2 separate regions of the Homo sapiens genome follow, and region 2 is linked to region 1. Evidence: promoter capture Hi-C in 16 types of primary human blood cells and fetal thymus (Javierre and others, 2016). All regions are on one chromosome and are shown on one strand. Each heading gives the region's core, a stretch centred on a gene start or on the middle of the fragment in contact. The rest is flanking DNA. Distances are from core to core; before and after follow the strand shown.

Evidence for each region. The method cuts DNA at HindIII sites, captures the fragments that hold promoters and counts their contacts. A CHiCAGO score of 5 or more calls a contact.
Region 2: a contact is called between a fragment that was not itself captured here and the fragment with the promoter of COG6 in region 1, in 2 of 17 cell types (fetal thymus and M0 macrophages). The highest score is 7.7, in fetal thymus.

What each region holds. Positions count from the first base shown.
Region 1 is chr13:39,653,755-39,657,548 of GRCh38, reverse strand. It overlaps COG6 (component of oligomeric golgi complex 6), which reads right to left and starts at 1,887. Exons shown (of 19, transcript NM_020751.3): 1 at 1,670-1,887. The coding sequence starts at 1,822. RefSeq lists a silencer at 1,574-1,623. The HindIII fragment of the contact is 8,496 bases long and covers 1-3,794 here.
Region 2 is chr13:40,674,780-40,678,160 of GRCh38, reverse strand. No RefSeq gene overlaps it. Among named protein-coding and RNA genes, the nearest start is that of FOXO1, 9.8 kb to the right of the region's middle. The HindIII fragment of the contact is 398 bases long and covers 1,623-2,020 here.

The DNA.
Region 1 (3,794 bases), core at 638-3,137:
CTGTACAGAAAAAAAAAACCCATGAAGTGAAGCAGTTTCTTTAGACTATAGCCTTGAAATGTCCTAAGGTCTGGTTCAAAGAAGTAATCAGTAATGTTGAACGAATGAAATCACAGACTCAGATGCAAATTACAGTTCCACCAGTTACTAGTTATATGACAACCTAGCTGCACTCTCTCCATGCTTTATTTTCCTCATGGTAAAAAGAAGGTTATGTGGCCGGGCGCAGTGGTTCACGCCTTGTAATCCCAGCACTTTGGGAGGCTGAGGCGGGCAGATCACCTGAGGTCAGGAGTTCAAGACCAGCCTGACCAACATGGAGAAACCCCGTCTCTAATAAAAATACAAAATTAGCCAGGCGTGGTGGCACATGCCTGTAATCCCAGCTACTTGGGAGGCTGAGGCAGGAGAATCGCTTGAACCCGGGAGGCAGAGGTTGCAGTGAGCCGAGACTGCGCCCATTGCACTCCAGCTTGGGCAAAAAGAGCAAAACTCTGTCCAAAAAAGAAGGCCATGTTATCTATATCAGAGCAAGTAGCAGTCTTAAATGATATAATAAATATCAATATGAGACACATTAAACACTTCATAAATTTTATGATAAAATTAATATTTGTTAAGAAAGAGTAAGTGCCAGGCTCTTTGCAAAGGACTTTACCTGGAGTCTCTCACTGAGTCCTCAAATAACAACCATGAGAAACTTAACAGCAGGATTCCTAATTCCTAAACAGAAGCTGAGATTAGTGAAGGGACTTACTCAAATCATGATGCACACATTTAGTGGTTCTATCTAATAAGTGGTAGTCTCCAGAGCCCTAATTTCTTATTCATTACATTGCAATGTTATTTTTTTACATATCGGAATCAAATTGTTATCGACAGCTTATTTTCAGTTACCTACATATTCACCTATAAAACTCTCTAACTTTGACATATGTTCTTCTTTATGTTACACTGTCATGACCAATTTACCTAGCGACCCACAGAGACAGAAGAGATGGCTGGGTATGTGAGGAGCTGTAAAGTCCAACTTAAGTTTCAGGAGGTACTTGTGAGAGCATGCTGTCAGTTTATCTTCTAAAGAAATACAGCCTGAGCCCACAAATCATAGCGCTTGGCTCAACAAAAACTAGTAGATATGAGTTCATTTCAGCCACGGGCAAAGGTAGTTCTTTCGCGCTGCAAATTATTGCAATTGTTGTCACTTGTCCGTGGAAATGCACCCTTATCCCTACCACTGCTCTCTTGGTCTCCCGACCCCCATTTGCGCTACCTTATCTTGGAATCTGCTCTTTTGCATCTGTTTCATATCCAGTCTTGTGCTCTCCTCCACTCTCCCAGCTCACACAGCCAAACGCCTCCAGGGGTGTTTGGAGGACACTTCTCGAGGCACCACCGTTCACCAATCCCATCCAGAGAGCCTTGAAGGCACCTTTTCAGGTGGAGAGAACACCCAGGAAACCCCTTCGCTTTTCCGGAGGTTGCTGGGGCTCCCCCTTCTCACCGCCCCCGGCGCCCGCAGAGCAGCGGAGCCCGCAGGTCTGGGGTCACTCGCGGTCCCTCTGCTGCCGGGACGAGGGAGACCGCGGTGGGTCCCTGACAGACGCCGCCCCTGGCCCGGCTCAGCCCCGCAGGAACCTGTGACTCCGGCCCCGCCAGCCCCGGTTACCTTGTCGTTGTCCAGCCGCGTCTCCAGGATCTTATGCAGCTTGCGCGACAGCGGGTTGCAGGTCGTCGCCGAGGTCCCGCCTGCCCCATTGTTGAGGCCGTTGGCAGCCCCGGTCGCAGACACTGCGACCACTTCCCCGCTGCCCTCTGCCATAGCGCTGCGCGTCCCGCCCCCTGCTGCCACCTCAGCCAGGCAGGGACCACGGAGGCAGCGCGAGTATTGCGCATGTGCAAATCGGCCGCGCATGCGCATCGGCCCCGGAAGTCTTCGCCGGGTAACCCTGCTTGGGCTCTCAGAAGCGTGAGGGGCGGAGAAGATGTGGGGGGCGGGACAAGACCCTCAGGTAGAAGGAGAAAATTTATAGGATTAGAGAGGACTTTGGAATTATGGATCTGCGACCTTCAGAGCTAATTAGATGACAACCAAATGTAGTATGTAAAATACACCATGACTTGTGCCTGGCATATACATTCAATATAAGTTAACTGAAAGTTTAAATTACATTTGCCTTATCTGAATTCATTTTTTTGAAAATTATTTATTGAAGGCATAGTATGTGCCAGGTACTCTGGTAGGCATTGGAGAATCTACATTGTGTGTCTGAAACAGACAAAGCTGTTAATAGATGTTATTAGGTTGTGATGAGTGCTCAGGGGATGAAGTAGTACAGTGAAAGAAAATGGAGGGAAAGGCCCACTTCACTCAGGGAGGTTTGGAGAGGAGTTGACACTTAAACTGAGATTTGAAGGAGAATCAGAATGTGAGGAGAAATCATTCCCAGGCAGAAGAAAGTGTGTAAGTGTACAGGCCTCAAAACAAGATGAACTTGGCCCTGACACAAATGGACCAGAGCCCATGTAGCTGTAAAGTAATGGATAAAAATGTAACAAGTTGAAAAAACTTCCCGGGAAACTCTGGAAAACAAACATCATTGCTTTTTTTCTTTCTTTTCTCAGTTTTTAAAATTTGGATCAAAATAAAATCGCTGGGCTTCTGTGAATTATTTGTCAGAAACACTATTTGGCTCTTGTCATAAATTTTCCTTGTTTCATATATGTCTATGTACATAGTTATATTGTATATCAGACTTAAGGGAAAATTACCTATTACAGAGGTCACATAAAGAAAGCACTGACAAAACCACTCATCTCTACTCTAATGAAGAAGAGAAGGCCCAACTATCCAAAAGAAAAAAATATACAAAAAGCAGCAATATCTAGGTATGAATTCAACAAAAAATACAGAGAACCTAGATGAAGAAAACTTTAAAATGCTACTGGGAGAACATAAAACTTAAATCAATGAAAAAATATATTGTTCTCTTCAACAGGAAGACTCAATATTGTAAGATGTCTTTTCTCTTTCACAGATAAATTTAAGTTCAGTGTAACCAAAATTAAAATATCAAAGGTTTACCTAAGGTGTATATATCCAAATGAATTTGCATATATACAAAGCAATAATATAATGTAGAGCTTGCAAATATGTACAATTAAAAGGAATGACGATGATAACATGCCAAGTCAGGAGCGGTCATGAAATACCACATATTGTATGACCTCTTTATGTGAAATCTCCCAAATAGGTAAATCAATAGAGATAGAAAGTAGATGAGTGGTTCTGGGAAGAGGAGTGTTGGGAAGAGGGAATGGGGAGTGTCAGTTCATGGTACAGGTTAATTTTTGGGGAGATGAAAATACTCTAAAGCTAAATTGTGGTGATGGTTGCACAACTCTGTAAATATACTAAAAAACACTGAACTGTACACTTTAAATGAATGAATTGAATGGCATGCAAGTTTCATCTCAAATCTGTTTTTTAGGCCAGGTATGGTGGCTCACACCTGTATTCCCAGCACTTTGGGAGGCTTAGGCAGGGGGATCTCGAGTTCAGGAGTTAAAGACCAGCCTGGGCAACATAGCGAGACCCTGTCTCTACAAAAAAAAAAAAAAAAATACGAAAACTAGTCGAGTGTGGTGGCATGCCTGTGGTCCCAGCTACTTGGAAGGTTGAGGTGGGAGTATCACTTGAGCTCAAGCCTGCGGTAAGTCATAATCATGCCACTGCCCTCTACTCTAGCCTGGGTGATGGAGCAAGGCCCTATCTTAAAATTGAAAAAAAAAAA
Region 2 (3,381 bases), core at 572-3,071, 1.0 Mb before region 1:
GGTCAGGAGTTTGAGACCAGCATGGCCAACATAGTGAAACCTCGTCTCTACTAAAAATACAAAAAAATAGCCGGGCGTGGTGGCTCACGCCTGTAATCCCAGCACTTTGGGAGGCCGAGGCGGGTGGATCATGAGGTCAGGAGATCAAGACCATCCTGGCTGACACGGTGAAACCCCGTCTCTACTAAAAAAATACAAAAAATTAGCCAGGCATGGTGGCGGGCGCCTGTAGTCCCAGCTACTCAGGAGGCTGAGGCAGGAGAATGGCGTGAACCCGGGAGGCGGAGCTTGCATTGAGCCGAGATCGTGCCACTGCACTCCAGCCTGGGCGACAGAGCAAGACTCTGTCTCAAAAAAAAAAATAATAATAATTAGCTGGGCGTGGAGGCAGGCGCCTGTAATCCCAGCTACTCCGGAGGCTGAGGCAGGAGAATCGCTTGAACTCAGGAGGCAGAGGTTGCAGTGAGTGGAGATCACGCCATTGCACTCTGGCCTTGGCAACGAGAGTGAAACTCAGTCTCAAAAAAATAAATAAATAAAAATAAAAAATAATGCTTTCATTATGACCTGTTTAAGAATTGATCATCAAAGGTAGAACTAAGAATGTCCTTGCTAATTAAGAAAAAAACAAAACCCTTTCACACCTTTAAATGTTTTTTGGTAACATTTACAATATAAATTTTTATCCTGACTGTGTAATTTTAGCAGCTTCTTTTTTTTTAAATTTCAGGTTTTCCTGGTTTCTAATTTAAGATGTTTCCATGGTTCTCATCAATTTTTGTTTATTAGTGACTAAATTTGTTGTATATTTTAATTGGGCTGTGAAAATAAGGTGGCATTTATGATATCTTTTAATAGAATCATCGTGTGTACACACAGTTGACACGTGGTTTTACAGTACAACTGCCAAGAATAACTAATCTAGGAATAACTGCAGAATCTGCCTTGTTAGAAATAATTCGTCTACATGAAAAGACATGAGTACTTTTTAATTTTAAAAGTGAACATTAAAATTAGGCTATTGCCTTCTTCCTAAGTAAGAATTTAACTAGTCTTAAAAAAAGAAATCACAGCTAGGCGTAGTGGCTCATGCCTGTATCCCCAGCACTTTGGGAGGCTGAGGCGGGTGGATCACCTGAGGCTAGGAGTTCAAGACCAGCCTGGCCATCATGGCAAAACCCTGTCTCTACTAAACATACAAAAAATTCACAGCGCGTGGTGGCAGGTGCCTGTAATCCCAGCTACTCAGGAGGCTAAGGCAGGAGAACTGCTTGAACCCGGGAGGTGGAGGTTGCAGTGACCCGAGATAGCGCCATTGCACTCCAGCCTGGGCAACAAGAGCAAAACTCCGTCCCAAAAAAAAAAAGATATCAAACCCAGAAAAACAGATCCCAGACTTAGAAGCCATTATATTCCAATTCCCTTCAAGTCATCTACTTTTTGTTGTTATTGCCGTTCTATATGTTTTGCTTTTCTGAGTTAATTTTGTAAGATTTTAAAATTTTTATGAGACAGTCACTTGTCTCCAAATTTTGTTTCTTCTTCTTCTTCTTCTTCTTTTTTTTTTTTTAAAGAGACAGGGTCTCACTATGTTGCCCAGGCTGGACTCGAACTCCCAAGCTTCAACAATCCTCCCACCCCAGCCTCCCAAAGTGCTGGGATTACAGGCATGAGCCACCACGCCCGGCCCCAGGTTTTGTATTTCTTAAAGCAACATCTAACTCTTACAAAATACGTTGGGGTGTCTGAGTGGGTTCAGTTTTTGAGAATTTTGTCCAAAAGAAGAGACACAGAAAACCAAAGGATACATTGTATAAATTCTCTTTTGCAATTATTTTAGAGAAATTTGCATGATTGTTAAAGTTGTTGTGCTGCTTTCTATGATAATATTATCTGTCAAGCCGAAGCTACCAGTACCATTGTCAGCTAAACTCCTGAAATGAGTCAGCTAATTTTATTTTTAACTGCTTTTTAATTGCCTGCTGAGACTATCAAGAATAATATGAGGATTTTTAAAGCTTTTCTAGCAACATTTTGGTATATCAGATCGTATAAAAAGATAGATCAAAGATTCAAAATTCTCAACTTACTTCCATGTAAAACTCATAGCAGCTAGGTGCAATGGCTCACACCTGTAATCCCAGTATTTTGGGAGGCTGAGATGGGAGGATTGCTTAAGGCCAGGAGTTCCAGACCAGCCTGGGCAACATAGGGAGATCCCATCTCTACAGAAAATTTAAAAATTAGTTGGGCGTGGTGGCAAGCATCTGTAGTCTTAACACCTAGGGAGGCTGAGGTGGGAGGATCACTTGAGCCCAGGAGTTCGAGGCTGTAGTGAGCTATGATCGCACCACTGCAACTCCAGCCTGTATTACAGAGCAAGACCTTGTCTCTAAAAAAAAAAAAACCAAAAAACCAACCATAACAACAATAACAAAAACCCTCAAAGCTGTAGAGCATGAATAGGTAGTAACAATCCCTGAAATTAGAGGCCTTCCTAAACTCTTGCTATGATGTGCCATGATTATACATATTATCTCTAAATTCACAAAGGACCAGTTGGATTTGGCAACCAATGTGCCTAACACGTGAATGTGGAGGAGCTATGGTACAATTTAGAACAAATATCAATGATTTAGAAATCACGTATTTACCAGAGTTAAAGTAATTTGTATACTAACAAAAACCTACCCACGAGGTTGTACCAATGTCAGAGAACAAACATTTTATCCCTGTTTCAAAGTGCTTTAAGACATTATTTTAATCCTTACAATACCTCTTTGAGGTATGTAGGTGGCAAGTCATACCAAAATAAAAATTCAAAATACAAAATAAATGGAACACTACTTAGGGAATAAAAGAGGTTCTAGTTGATCATGCGTTGTTGATTTTCTGCTTTTCTTGGAAGATCTGTTTGTGATTTCACTTTATCATATTTTGCATAGAGGACCAACATCATGGCAAACTTGATGAGGGGTTGTTATGATCTGTAAAGAGCCTCTGTGTTCCCATTGCCTTCTCCTCACCCCAGTCATGGCTGGAGATGACCGAGGGACTCTGGGTGTGCTGTCATGTCCAGAGGACAGCAGGGAGGGAGAGGGGGAAGCATTCTTTTCCTTCTCCACCCTACTTCCCCAGACCTCTGCCAGGCTCCTAATTTGACTGTGTGTACAATGAAAAGGGAAAATCAAATAATGAGTCAAATATATAGATACTAAAGAAGAGAGAGAATGTATTGAGATGCTTAACTGATTTTGTTTTACTGGGTTATCATACAATGGTTGGCATTAATCTTCAGCATCTACTGATGCCAACATCAGTGGATGCACAGGCCAATGGCCAATGGACCATTAAAACTGGCACATATCCTGGAGATGGAAA